Regions from separate parts of the Homo sapiens genome. Here region 2 is linked to region 1. Evidence: promoter capture Hi-C in human tissues and cell types (Jung and others, 2019). All regions are on one chromosome and are shown on one strand. Each heading gives the region's core, a stretch centred on a gene start or on the middle of the fragment in contact. The rest is flanking DNA. Distances are from core to core; before and after follow the strand shown. Region 1 holds the start of ZNF445 (zinc finger protein 445). Region 2 holds the start of LINC01988 (long intergenic non-protein coding RNA 1988).

What was found. Contacts are between HindIII fragments. The study calls those that stand out against the background at their distance.
Region 2: a fragment that was not itself captured here is called in contact with the fragment with the promoter of ZNF445 in region 1 in 2 of the 25 tissues and cell types used here (pancreas and spleen).

Annotation. Positions count from the first base shown.
Region 1 is chr3:44,473,381-44,480,798 of GRCh38, reverse strand. ZNF445 (zinc finger protein 445) reads left to right here and starts at 3,129. Exons shown (of 8, transcript NM_181489.6): 1 at 3,129-3,208. LOC101928529 (a long non-coding RNA gene) reads right to left here and starts at 3,109. Exons shown (of 4, transcript XR_940785.4): 1 at 2,590-3,109; 2 at 2,130-2,217. RefSeq lists silencers at 3,152-3,311, 3,332-3,381. The HindIII fragment of the contact is 14,864 bases long and covers 1-7,418 here.
Region 2 is chr3:44,424,953-44,432,370 of GRCh38, reverse strand. It overlaps LINC01988 (long intergenic non-protein coding RNA 1988), which reads right to left and starts at 4,449. Exons shown (of 4, transcript NR_144436.1): 1 at 4,213-4,449; 2 at 3,747-3,816; 3 at 3,430-3,524; 4 at 2,842-3,305. ZNF445 (zinc finger protein 445) reads left to right here. Exons shown (of 8, transcript NM_181489.6): 8 at 1-666. It also overlaps the pseudogene C3orf86P. RefSeq lists an enhancer at 7,388-7,418. The HindIII fragment of the contact is 6,393 bases long and covers 1,479-7,418 here.

The DNA.
Region 1 (7,418 bases), core at 1,880-4,379:
TCTAAGTACTTGAGGTATAGCAATGCATAAAAGCAAAGATTCCATAGTTTTTCTTCCTCATGGCTATGGTCTGACTCAAAGATTCTTTCACCCCCTCCACTACCAATAAAGTTTAAATTCGTGTATATTCTCTCCTGGCTTCCTGATCCTCTCTCTTTCTCTACTTTTATGTTCAGATGCAAGGAATATCCTCTGCAGAAAAAGATGGAGGGTGGAGGAGGGAGTTGAGTTCAATTTTTCATTTTAAGTCCTTCATTAGTACTAAATGCATCAGTATTTCTTTGATATAAATGATAATTTTAAAATTCATTTAAAGTTGGATCACCTTCTAAAATCTCATTAAAATGTATTTTTCAATATCTTAGAATTAGAGGCAGAAGGGGGAATTCAGAGAAGATTAATTATATGATATAATATGTAATATATTTCAAATGGCCACAATTACACATAATTTAACTGCTTAAACATTTGTTTTATGTTTTTCTTATAGAAGAGTACACTAATCCAATGGATCACAGTAATCACCATCCTCAGATACATTGCTCTATTTTATTTTCATCCTAATATTTCAACCTGCCTCCTTCAAACTACAGAGAAGGGGCTGAGTTTGAGGCCAGAAAAGGAGTGAAAATCCTACCAGGCCAATTTGTTTGCCCACAACTGATTCTTAGTTTTAACATCTTATCTCTTTTCTCAAGTCACATTCCAGATCCCCATCTCAACACCCCAATTTTTTCTTCCCCATTTCAAAATAAGAAGAAAAAAATTAAGGAGGAAATTTCCCCCTTCTGTTTGAAAGGCAGAATCCTGATACACTTTAAATTCCAAAACAAAGAAGCAAATGAACATGCAATCCTTTAGCATGTGGTTTTTACATGTAGCAAGGAATCAGGGTAAAAGGATAATTATCTACTTCCAGGTTCTCAAATGTTGGAATCATCTAGGGATTTTAAAATCTAGGCTTGTCAGTGTCTCACCCACAAAGATTTGGATTGAATTGATATGAGGTATGGACTTTTTAAAAGCTCTGAGGAGGATTCTAATCTGCAGCAAAGTTAAGAACCACTGATTTACATGCACAGTTCTTTGCTTCTCCAAGTGTGGTCCAAGAACTGCAATATGGGTACACCTGGAAGTTTGTTAAAAATATTCGTTGGTCCCTCCCCAGACCTCCTGAATTTGAATCTACAGTTTAACCAGATCCCAAGTGATTTGTATTCATATGCACATGAGAATTTGAGAATCTTACCTAGGGCTTTTACTAAGCAAACTGCCCCGATCTGAAAGAGTACAGTGCTCAGGAAGTACAGCTAGCAAGAATATGCCTCCTACCAGAAAAGTGAAGAAACCTCATGGTTATAGGCTCGAGTGCTGTGGCACTCGGAGAAATCAGGTATTAGCAGAACTTCGAGATTCAAGAAGCTGTATAGGTCTTAAAATCAGAGCTGCACTCCCAGTGGCTGCTTCCCGAACTTTGCAAGTGCTGGTGAAGCCAATTTGGTTGATCTGTTTGATCACACTAAATGTGGGTGCTATCCATGCTAACCACCTATCACGTTGAAAAACATCCAGTAAGTACATCCCAAACACAGAGAACCTGCTCAAACTCTTCTACGATGGGAAAATTTTGTTCTCAAACAAAACTTGAAAACTCTTCTCACCACTATGGGTGGTTCTGAGTCACTCAAGAACATTATATCGAGTGGAAATTAATGGACAAATTAGGCATTGACAAGCAGTTTCTATTTTCCTTTTTGTATGTGTTGGATATTTTCCAATTGCCCCTCCATATTCAGTCTCAGTCCTCAACCCTGCTGTGACACTTGGGAGACTGAGTTTCCTGGATTGCCCTCTGGCTTCCAGTTGAGTTGGGCCAATGGGAAGCCCTGGCAGGAGATCAGAAGAGAGCTGGGTTCAGGTTATTTATTACCTCAGCTTCCTTTGTGCTGGACTATGGCTTGGATGTAGCCCTCAACTGAAAGCCACAGTTTCTCTCAGATGGCCTGCTCCTAGGGGTGAGAATAGCTTCTAAATTTTGCTAGCCATGGGATTCTGCACCACTCCGTGTTGCATTTCCTTAACCCTGTCCACTTTGTGTAAATCGCCCCTTGTGAACTCTCCCCACTTACCTTGTTTGAATGTGCCATCTGTTTCTCTATCACCTTGTCACCATCTTCCTGGTGTTCAGGATCTATTCTCTGTTTCCATCTTTGGTGACTGGGGCATTAAAAAGGGGTGGATCAGATGAGTAAAGCAAAGCCTCAGGGCACAGATGGGCATCATCAATGCCCATCTGAAAGATCAATCGTCAACATGTTGCAGCCTGCCACTAGGAAGCACAAACCAGAGGACTACCAGGACAGCAGCTTGTAGCATGCCCTCCAATGGCAGCAGATGGCCTTATGGCTTTGGCTGTGCACCCTCAAGGTTCTCTGGCACTGGCAATAGATGACATTTGCTCCTACAGGGGGTGGGCAACCTCTCCAGGTTGCTTCACCTCCTCTTCAAGCAGCCCCTCCACCCCCTACCCCCAACCTACTCCTCCCAGATTCCACATATTATTGGGCAATGGCATCATTGTTCACTCACCAGGCGAGCCTAGTTAGAATTCACCCACAGGAGAAAACGAGTGAAGGCCGTGGGAAGCTAAAGTATGGTGCACCTCTGAGCTGGCTATGAACAAGTATTCCTGGGTATGGTGATGATGGGGATGAGCTCGTCTTGGAAAGGCAGGAGTTCTGGCACCTAGCTTCCCGTAGGATCTGGTTCCCCTCTTTGAAGTGTACCCAGGCGAAGAATGAGTGGCTCCCTTAACCCCTTCTCCTGGCCAGGACCAGTCTGCTAGATACTGCTGGCCCTATTTTCACCCCTAGCTTTGGATCCCTTTCTTCCCTGGAGGGAAAGAGGCCTTCAGGGCAGCCCCGCAGACACGACAGGAGGGATGCAAGAAAACAGGCGCGGCTGGGCATCCGAGCGTGGAAGGGAAATGTCCAACTGAGGGAGGTGAGGGATGTTGGACAAGCCCCGCCGCCCGCCGCACCGGAGCCGGAGAGAAGCAGAGACGTTGGGCCTCCCAGTTTCCTAGAGAGGCCGCGGAGGGCCCCGGGCGCCGACGCGCGTGCGCGACTGGAGCCGCCGGGAGGTAGGCGCGGGACGGGCGGCTGCGGTGGCGGCGGGTGGACCGATTGTCGCTCGGCGGCGGGAGTCGGTGAGAGGCCTGGCGGGGCGCGGGGGTGGGGGTGGCGGCATTGCGGGCGCGGGGCTCCCCGAAGTCCGCGGCATTCTCGGGCCTGCCCGGGCGGCGGACGGGGCCCGGCCTGGAGGCTGCGCCCGTGGCGGGGGTCTGGCGGTGGATCCCGCCCCCGCCACGCTGAGGGCGTATCTAGAACCTCTTTGCCTCCCAGGCGTCCGGGGTAGAGAATCTGGAGCCCGGGTTTCTCCGGGCTTTCTCGTTTCATCCAATTCTGCATATAAAGCGTATTTATCAGAGACAATTAGATAACACGGGAAAGTAGAAGAAAAGTAAAAGTAGCCGCAATCCTGAAATCTGTCTCCAGGCCTCCTGACATTTAAAATATCTGTGCATAATTCTGCACACTGACATCCATAAATATATATTACGAAATGAGAGCGTGCTCTTGCTTTTTAAAAAACCTGTTAGTATTATTGTGAGGAAACAATATTGTGCCAAAATAACACATAACATTTACCATACAATACATAAACGTTTACCATTTAACCATTTGGAAGTGTGTAATTCAGTGACATTAAGTATATCCATACTACTGCTTTTTAAAAATTATAATCTCCTGAATTTGTAGAATGCATTTGTTCTTATTTTGGCTAAAATTAGTGCTGGCATTATGACACCACTAAAACATTTTTTTTTTGGCGAGGATAATTAAGAAATCGTGTTTGCAGTTTATTTTCTGTAGGAGACACATTTGCATGAAGCTCTAAATGGTGAAGTGACATTTGTGCAGAAAAATAGCAAAATCTTGTTTGTCAGGGTGGTTATCTTTCACAATGAAGTAACTAGTATATAAAATGCAGTTTTTAAACAAAGGCAGAGCTCTAACCTGCAGCGATTGTAGCACACTCTGACTTGCACAGGCCTAAGAGATCAGAGTATTGTCTCCTTCCGAATTTAAAAGTGGTGGCCAGGAAAGAATGTTATTCTGTTTCAAACGGCTTGTAGTGCAAAACTAAAAACTCAGTATTAGGTTGGTTGTTTTGCAAGGAAGTGCCAGGGAGTGGTTTGAGCAGTAATTTGATTAAGCAGTTTCAGAGAGCCTCCATGTGTTGTGTGTGTGTCTGCGTGTGTGTGTGTGCATGCATGTGTGTGCATATTCAGGGACCAAAGAATTAGGCTGCTCTTTTATGTTATCTTAATGAAAGGCAGACACATTTTGGTTAGAAAAAAAAAAAAGTCTTACTGTAAGCCGAAAAGATGAGAATGTTTTGAAGATAAACCTCAGTATGCACTTAAAAAGGAAACTGACAAAAAGCATGAAAAATGGCAAGTATTCCACCGCTAGGTTTTCTCTGGCTTCCGGTATCCAGGAAGAATTAGTGCATAAGCAGTCTACGATGTCAGAGAGTAAACTATAGTAAAACATAACACTGTATTTTGCAATTTTCAAGATTTTGTATTAGAAACAATGTGAAAGAGTACATTTCTGTGACTCTCAGGCGAATTGTTAGGTGTTCTGTAAGATTGAATTTATGAATTTCTTTTTTTCCTTCCTATTCTTAAATTTATTTTCTTTTTCCTTGTTTATTTTATTTATTTTATTTTTGAGACGGAGTTTCACTCTTGTTGCCCAGGCTGGAGTGCAGTGGTGCAAACTCGGCTCACTGCAGCCTCCGCCTCCTGGGTTCAAGTGATTCTCCTGCCTCAGCCTCCCAAGTAGCTGGGATTACAGGTGTGTGCCACCACGCCCAGCTAATTTTTGTATTTTAAGTAAAGACGGGGTTTCACCGTATTGGTCAGGCTGGTCTCGAACTCCCGACCTCAGGTGATCTGCCTGCCTCAGCCTCCCAAAATGCTGGGATTACAGGCGTGAGCCACCGTGCCCGCCTCTTGTTTTATATTACTATGTAGCAGCTGTCACTGTTTAGCATACCACGAATCTGTCTCCTCATAGACGCCTCAAGGCAGTACTGGAACATACAGTAGGTTCTCAATAAATATATGACAAATTAATGAAAGAAGGAATCCAAATTGGTAGATAAAAATTGACAGTATTAAATGTCCTCGATTTTTAAGAGCCACTTACCAAGTTAATCTTTAATACCTGGCTGAGCATGGTGGCTCATGCCTGTAATCCCAGCACTTTGGGAGGCTGAGGTGGGTGGGTCACCTGAGGTCAGGAGTTCAAGACCAGCCTGGCCAGCATGGTGAAACCCCATCTCTACTAAAAATACAAAAAATTAGCTGGGCATGGTGGCGGGCACCTGTAATCCCAGCTACTTGGGAGGCTGAGGCAGGAGAATTGCTTGAACCCAGGAGGCGGAGGTTGCAGTGAGTGGAGGTCACGCCATCGTACTCCAGCCTGGGCAACAAGAGTGAAACTCCGTCTCAAAAAAACAAAACAAAACCTGTAATACCTAAAATGGAAATAAATCAGATAAAAATGATGATGACTGAATGACTGGAACTTCTCAATGTAAGATAAGACAAACCTTTTTTTTGAGACAGAGTTAACGCTCTTTCACCCAGGCTGGAGTGAAGTGGCATGATCTCAGCTCACTGCAACCTCTGCCCCGCCCCATCCCCTTTGAACAATTATCCCTCCTTAGCCTCCTGAGTAGCTGGGATTACAGGCATGCGCCACCACGCCCAGCTAATTTTCATATTTTTAGTCTCAAACTCCTGACCTCAGGTGATCCACCTGCCTCGGCCGTCCAAAGTACTAGGATTACAGGTGTGAGCCACCGCGCCTGGCCAGCAAACTTTTTATTTGGAATAATTGTAGACTTTCAGAGTTCTCTTACACCTTTTACCTAGTTTGTCTCAAGTTGCTATCTTGGATTACCATAGTACGTTCATCAAAATTAAAAAATTTACGTTGGTACAGTACTATTAATTAAACTGCAGACTTTTAAAAGTTTATTTAAGCATTCTTTTTCTGTTGTAGGCTCCAATCTAGAATTCCTCATTACGTTTAGTTGTCATGTCTACTTGGTCTGCTTCAATCTGTGACAGTTACTTAGTCTTTCAAAACACTTCTGAAGAAGTGTTTTATATTTGTTTTTTTGTTTGTTCTGTTTTTTGTTTGTTTGAGACGGAATTTTGCTCTTGTTGCACTGGCTGGAGTGCAATGGCGTGATCTCGGCTCACCGCAACCTCCGCCTCCCAGGTTCAAGTGATTCTCCTGCCTCAGCCTCTCGAGTAGCTGGGATTACAGGCATGTGCCACCAGGCCTGGCTAATTTTGTATTTTTAGTAGAGGCAGGGTTTCACCATGTTGGTCAGGCTAGTCTCAAACTCCCGACCTCAGGTGATCTGCCCACCTCAGCCTCCCAGAGTGCGAGGATTACAGGCATGAGCCACCGTGCCGGCCTTATATTTGTATTTTTATAAAGTCCCTCAATTTGGTTGCATCTCAAGTTTTCTGTCAAGTTTTACCACTGGAACCTTACTGTCTTTCTCCTAGTCATCAGTAATTATTTGGGGGAAGATAGTTTACTACTTTGCATATGAGATGCTGTTTCTCTTTGAACTTTGGTCTAAGTAGCATTCATTGATTGATCTTGCCTGCAGCAATGACTACTGTGGTGTTGGGATTTGACTTTCTCTTTCCTTCATTCCTTCTAGGCATTCATTGGATACTTACATACAATTCTCATTCATTCAAAGTATTAATTGGAATCTTTGTGAGGAAGAGTTATCCCTTCTCCCCTGTTATTTATTTATTCAATCAGTTATATTATTGTGTGCTTTGGATACTTATTTTATTCTTTGCACTAGAATGCAGTACTGTTGTTATTTTATTGCTGAAATTATTGTAGCTCTTTGACTATTGGGAGCTGTGTCTGTTTGCCCCGATTTTTTTTTTTTTTTTTAGTCCTTCCTTAGTTTTTGTTTTCTGGCACCCAAAACCCTTATATTTTTCCCTCCCCAGCCTGGCATCAGTCACTTCTCCAAGGATCCCTGTTTGTTGTTGTTGTTGTTTGTTTTAATTGGAGAATAGTATAGTATTTAGAAATCAAATTTTGGGCACTCCCATTATTAGTTTATTTCTTAATTGGTAAATGAATATAAATATTATTTTAAGGCTTTAAATATATACTGAAAGCATTTTTTGTGTGTGTGTGTGTGTGTGTGTGTGTGTGTGTGTGTGAAGTGGAGTTTCACTCTCGTTGCCCAGGCTGGAGTGCAGTGGCATGATCTCGGCTCACTGCAACCTCCGCCTC
Region 2 (7,418 bases), core at 3,426-5,925, 50 kb after region 1:
TTAATTCTATAAGCCAATTCCTTATCATAAATTCATAAATCCCTCTCTCTCTATCTCCATCCACACACACACACACACACACACACACACACACACAGACACACACACACAAATGAGTGTAGATGTGTTCCAATAAAACTTCATTTAGAGACATTGAAATTTAAATTTCAAGGGCTGGGCATGGTGGCTCAACGCCTGTAATCTCAGCACTTTGGGAGGCTGAGGCAGGTGGATCACTTGAGGTCAGGAGTTCGAGACCAGCCTGGCCAACATGGTGAAACCCCGTCTCTACTAAAAATACAAAACATGTAGCCACGTGCAGTGGCTCATGCCTGTAATCCCAGCTGGGAGGCTAAGATGGGAGAATAGCTTGAACACAGGAGGCAGAGGTTGCTGTGAGCTGAAATGGTGCCCAGAAGACAGAGCGACCCTGTCTCAAAAAAATAAAAAATAAAAAATAAATTTCATATAATCTTCAGATATATTCATTCATTTACATATTGTCTGTGGTTGTTTTCACCCTTTAGGTCAGAAGTAGCCGACAACCTTTACACAGTATTTACCACTGTTATAGACATCTTTAAATATGGTTTACTTTTGCCTGTTTTTGTACTTTATAGAAATGAAGTAATAAAGTATTGTCTGTCTTGCATTTTTTGCTCAAAATTACGTTTGTCAGTTTTATGTATGTCATTGCATGTGATGATGCTGTATTTTCATTATATCATGGTATTCTGTGTATGATGATACCACTGTGGAGCTCTAGCCCACTCTTTTTTTTTTCTTCTTTCTTTCTTTTTTTTTTTTTTTTTTTTTTTTTTTTGAGACGGAGTCTTACTCTGTCACCCAAGCTGGAGTATAGTGGTAGTATCTCGGCTCACTGCAACCTCCGCCTCGCAGGTTCAAGTGATTCTCCTGCCTCAGCCTTCCAAATAGCTGGGATTACAGGCATGCGCCACCATACCCGGCTAATTTTTGTATTTTTAGTAGAGACGGGGTTTCACCATGTTGGCCGGAGTGGTCACGAACTGCTGACCTCAGGTGATCCACCCGCCTCAGCCTCCCAAAGTGCTGGGATTGCAAGCATGAGCCACCGTGCTCAGCCATCCAGCCCACACTTTATGGACATTGGGCTCTGCCTAGTTTTTGTCCTGGCTCACTGGGGATGGCCTATGTCCAGCTCTATGAAATTTGTAGCAGGCCTTTGAGTTCCTTTTAGCAACGCTTGATTGTGCCAGATCTCTCCATGTTCACTAATATCATAGGCTTGCTATGAGAAGCAACACCCAAAATCTTGTCTTTGCTAGCAGCACCAGGGCTATCTCCTACAAAGACTGCCTCTTCAGAGCCACAGCTCACAACTGCCTTGGCTGGGGTGTATGAGTGGCTGATTTTTTTCAAACTTGCAAGGCACCAAATTATTCAACTGTTTGTGTGTGGCAGGCCAGTCAGGGGTTACCTACATTAACAACACTCTGGATCCTTCTAGCTCTCCTTGCACACTGGCAAGCTCCAGCCAGAGACCACTTTTCTCACAGGACTTTGTTAAAAGCAGCCAAGGAGGAGCCAACAAAACCAGCATTCTGGATTCTTGCCGTTTTCCTAATGCCACAGATTTGGTCAAATTATGATCCACCCTCCAAGCTAACACAGGCTGCAACCTGGCCAAACATTTTACATGAGGTGCCAGCCTCCCCATCTCGAGGACGGGGATACTGCTAAACATTCTACACTGCCCAGTGCTGTCGCAACAACAAGGAATTATCCAGTCCCAAATGTCAAGAGTGCCAAGATTAAGGAACACTGCTTTATTTTATTTTATTTTTTTTTTTGAGACAGAGTGTTGCTCTGTTGCCCTGGCTGAAGTGCAGTGGTGCTATCCTAACTCACTGCAGCCTCAAACTCCTAGCCTCAAGTGATCCTCCCACCTTAGCCTCCTGAATAGCTAGGGCTACAGGTGCGTAACACCACACCCAGCTAATTTTTTAAAAACTTTTATGTAGAGATGGGGGTCTTGCTAGGCTGGTTTGAACTCCTGGCCTCAAGTGTTGCTTCTGTCTCGGCCTCCCAAAATGCTGGAATTACAGGCATGAGCCACAGTGCCCAGACCAAAACCGTTCTTTAGCAAGACATTCCTGTAGTCCAGGTCTGCTCATGGTAAACTTTTTATCTTGAAAGTCTTCATAGTTCCCTAATTGTTGAATAATTAGCTGAACGTACAAATCTGAGATGTCTGATTTTTTTCAGTATGTTAATGATACTATTTCATTAAATTTTATCATTTTTAATTTCAATTCATCAGATATTTTCCCTAGCAGCTTTCAAGGTTTATCTTCAGTGTTTCATGCTTTTGCTACAATGTAACTAAGTGTGGATGTTTTCAATTATCCTCTGTGGGATTCAGTGGCATCCCTCACTCTGAGAATTCCTGTTTTCCATCAATTTTGGGAAATTCTCAGCTTTATCTCTTGGATGTAGCCTCCCCTTTCCCTGTGTGATCTCCTAGAGCCTGTCTGTGCTCTGTTGGAACTTTTCCTTCAAATGTCCTGTCACCCATCTCTGGACTCCTTAAGGAAGATTGCACTTCAGATCTTGTTTGAGTTCACTTGGCCCCTCTGCTACCTGCATCTTATCTTTTTTGTGCGTGGGTGATGGAGTTTTGCTCTGTCGCCCAGGCTGGAGTGGCGCGATCTCAGCTCACTGCAACCTTTACTGCGCCCGGCCTGCTAACTGCATCTTATCTGATGTTTAATCTGTCCCTTGAGTTTTTATTTCTAATGATATTTTTCATCTCCAAAATGGGAAAAGCACATGTTAGCACAAATAATGAAACACTGGATATTGTTTTCTAAGGAATTTATTTGAAAGAATTATATCTATGGAAAATAAATATTCCAAAAAAGCTCTGAATTTTAGATGTTGAGATATTTCAAAGGTCAAACCAGGCCACGATTTGTGCTGGGTTGAAGGCCTGTGAGGACCCCATGTGGGACCCCCTGTGTGACGATCACAGCCTGGAGGATGACCTTCTGGGGGCTGAAGGGCATCACATTTTTGGACAAATCATAAATGTAGGAAAGCTCTGGGGCTGGTGGGAGTGGCTTGGGGGATGGGAAATGTGGGGCTCAGTGGCATAGGGAGTGGTACCTGTGGCCCACGCTTTCGGGGAGGGCCTGGGAGGGGGAAGCGCAGGATGCTTGTGTCAGGCAGTAGCAGAGGGCTCCTGGCATCAGCAGGCACCGGGCCAGTGCTTCTTGGGCCACTTTCTCTTAGGCAGCAGCAGGGGGTGTCCCTGGACTCCGTGCCTGTGTGGGAACACGAGATGGGCCTCTGGGACAGGGAGGAGCCACCTCCCCAGCACCACATCCAGACAGGGGTCCACATTGCAGGATCCGCAGAGAAGCAGGAAATGGTGCAGGAGGATCTAACCTGGATGCAGGGTAGGTTATTTGTTCTGTGACTTCATTTGCCCACATGCATGTGAGTAGAGGCTTGTTCCTTGACCCCAATTGACTTTTAGACATCTGAAGGAGAGAAAAGACAGCCTAAGTGAGTTCTCCATCAGTGGGCAATAGAGGAACTCACCCTCATGCTGCACACCTTCAAAGAAACTGTGTGGTCTGTGGACTTCAACAAACTAACCCATGCTCCAGGGGTACAGACTTTGTCAGACAATTTAAAAGCTTTCCCAAGAATAGGAGAGGGCTCATAAGCTGTCCCAAGTGAATTTCTAGGTTTGAACAAACCTTCAGTAAGAAACACGGTGGACACCTCCAAGTCATCCTCTCCTGACACACGTTTGCCAAGGTCCATTTCCTATGAATTGATAGGTTCTATTAGTTTTTATTTATTTATTTATTTTTTGAGACAGAGTTTCACTCTTGCTGCCCAGGCTGGAGTGCAATGATGAGGTCTTGGCTCACTGCAACCTCCGCCTCCCTGGTTCAAGTGATTCTCCTGCCTCAGCCTCCCAAGTAGCTAGGACTACAGGCGTGTGCCACCATGACTGGCTAATTTTTTGTATTTTTAGTAGAGAGGGGGTTTCACCATGTTGGCCAGGCTGGTCTCAAACTCCTGATCTCAGGTGATCCATCTGCCTTGGCCTCCCAAAGTGCTGGGATTACAGGCATGAGCCACTGTGCCCGACCGGTTCTGTTACTTTTATAAGGCATGAAGGGATAATCCTTCCTGGTGAAATCTGAAAGTCCTTACCTTCTAGGTTACTGAGGTTTCGAGGTCTGGGCAGCCGATTGGCTGTCTGATGTGAGGTGGAGAAGATGGGCCTGGTCAAAGGGGCAGCCTTTGGATTGGAACTGGATGCCCAGTCTGTCTGGGAGAAGGAAGGCAGTGAAGGGAAGGACCACGAAAAGGAGTGGCAGAAGACTGGCAGTCCCTTCACCCCACAGCCCTCTGCTTCATTCTCTGGCAGCTGTCCCTGACCTTTGTGACATCGAGGTCCCAGCCAATCACAGCACTCACTCCTGCTGTCCCAACAGCCTCCAAGGCAAATCTCTGGAGACTCCACCCACTGAGCTCCTCCCCTGGGGTTCTCTAAGCACTCTGAATTTGTGGACAAAAGCCCCTTTACTACCAGCATAACTACATACTTCACTTTCACAAGTTGGCATGCCTGGGTGAGGGCAATTATTTTAGTCATATGAGCTTCGATTTCTGGGAGAGTCAAGTCAATTCAGTTTTTGAGAGTGCTCTATATTTCAAGGGTGAATTTATATCTGTTATTTTACTTTATTTATTTATTTTTGAGAAAGGGTCTCGCTCTGTCATCCAGGCTGGAGTGCAATGGCATGATCTCGGCTCACTGAAGCCTCCGCCTCCTGGGTTCAAGCGATTCTTGTGCCTCAGCCTCCCGAGTAGCTGGAACTACAGGCGTGTGCCTCCACGCCCAGCTAAGTTTTGTATTTTTGGTGTAGAGATGGGGTTTCACTATGTCGGCCAGGCTGGTCTCTAACTCCTGGCCTGAAGTGATCCACCTGCTTTGGCCTCCCAAAGTGCTGGGATTACAGATGTGAGCCACCATACCCGGTCAAAATTTTTTATTTTAAATAAGTTATGGAAATGATGAAAACATTTCATTTACAAAATAAATGTGGGCCGGGCGCTGTGGCTCATGCCTGTAATCCCAGCATTTTGGGAGGCCGAGGCGGGTGGATCACCTGAGGTCGAGAGTTTGAGACTAGCCTGGCCAACATGGTGAAAACCCATCTCTACTAAAAATACAAAAAATTAGCTGGGCATGGTGGCACACACCTGTAATCCCAGCTACTCGGGAGGCTGAGACAGGAGAATCGCTTGAACCTGAGAGGTGGAGGTTGCTGTGAGCCGAGATTGTGCCACTGCACTCCAGCCTGGGGACAGAGTGAGGCTCCATCTCAAAAATAAATAAATAAATAAAATTAATGTAGGAAATTTAGGAAGTTTGAATTATAAGAAATCTAATTTTGGTCTGGAATAAGCCAAAATATTGTACTAACATTTTTTAAAAAAATAAACTAATAAGGAGTGAATCATGCTAACATTTTCCTTTATTTTGAAGTTGGCGTCTTTTCTTTTGTCATAGCTAGTTTAAAAGGTTATCAGGGAAATACATTTTCTAGTGTCCATAAAAAATAGTTCAATAACTTTTTTCTTTAGACAATTTAGACTTTACCTGAACTAAAAATTCCTAGAATATATGCATAACGGCTGAATGTAATTTTTGTTAAGTCTTTCATTTTGTTAAGTTTTCAAAAGAGGGAAAAGGAGAGGAAATGGGATAGAAAAAAAATGAGAGGGAGCTGGCTTTAGACAAATAACTAATCATTTTTCTCTGTAAGAAGAGGGATGAAAGTTTAGACATATATACAATACACACACGAGAGTGTCCTATATCTGGTTTTGACATAATTTCAGTTTGTGACAATTCTATCAAGCCATACAATTTTTTAAAAGCCAGAATGTATTAATCTCCAACTTATGGAAAGGAAGGAAGTGATGCCTCCCTGTGAAACAAAATGATCTGTCATTTAGGCAAACAAGACAAAGATTTTCCTCATGAGGGGTCTTTTATTCTTGATATCCAGAGTCTCCTTAAAATGTTTAGCCAAGCCCAGGTGCAGTGGCTCATGCCTGTAATCCCAGCACTTTGGGAGGCCAAGGCCGGTGGATCATGAGGTCAGAAGATCAAGACCATCCTGGGTAACATGGTAAAGCCCTGTCTTAGCTAAAAATACAAAAAAAATTAGCCGGGCATGGTGGCGGGCGCATGTAACCCCAGCTACTTGGGAGGCTGAGGCAGGAGAATGGTGTGAACCCGGGGAGGCAGAGCTTGCAGTGAGCTGAGATCACGCCACTGCACTCCAGCCTGGGTGACAGAGCGAGACTCCATCTCAAAAAAAAAAAAATGTTTAGCCAAATATTGATGTTTATGCAATAGAGTGATTTGCCAGCCAACATTTTTGTTTACCCAACATAGTGACAGTTTTGGACCTGAAGCCTTTCACAAAATGTGGCAAGGGCATTGGAAATGTCAACATTTTAAAGATGCTTGGTCGGGCACGGTGGCTCATGCCTGTAATCCTAGCACTTTGGGAGGCTGAGGTGGGTGGATCACTTGAAGTCAGAAGTTTGAGACCAGCCTAGCCAACATCGTGAAACTCCATCTCTACTAAAAATACAAAAATTAGTTGGGCGTGGTAGCACAGGCCTGTAATCCCAGCTACTCAGGAGGCTGAGGCGGGAGAATCACTTGAACCTGGGAGAAGGAGTTTGCAGTGAGCTGAGATGGTGCCATTGCACTCCAGCCTGGGCAACAGAGTGAGACTCCATCTCAAAAAAAAAAAAAAGAAAAGAAAAAAGAAAAAAAAGATGCACATGAGGGAAAAGATGCTCCTATTTCATATTAGTTATAGCTAAAGAATATTTTAGAGAAGCATTTTTTGAGTCCAAATTGTGTTTAGGAGCCTCCTCATACCAATTAAAGACAGCAGACCATTGGATATTCAGAATTTTGCTTTGTTTTTGTTTTGTATATATCAGAGTTTCCCCAAAGTGATCACTATAATTCTAAATTATCTTTGGGGAAATTGTACCAGTTAGAAAGCTATGCACATGAAGGGAGCCGGTGTTTGGCCTGAAAGAGGCTGAGTTTTCGATAGAAAAGACTCCATGGGAACTTCAGCGTGTCCACAGGGTGGTACTTGTGTGACACTGCGTCTTGGAGCCAGCCAAAGACTAACCAGCATTCAGGGTTGTCCAAGGCTTGGAAGACAAAGCCCTCAAAGCACACTGATCAAGAGCTGGACGCCATGGTGGGGGCAATAAGCTCTTAAGCTTGCCAATATTCACAGCAAGGGGGTTTCCAAGATCAGCTGGGGGAAGGTAATGGAATGAGTTAGAGTTTCCTGGGGAAACTGCCCCTG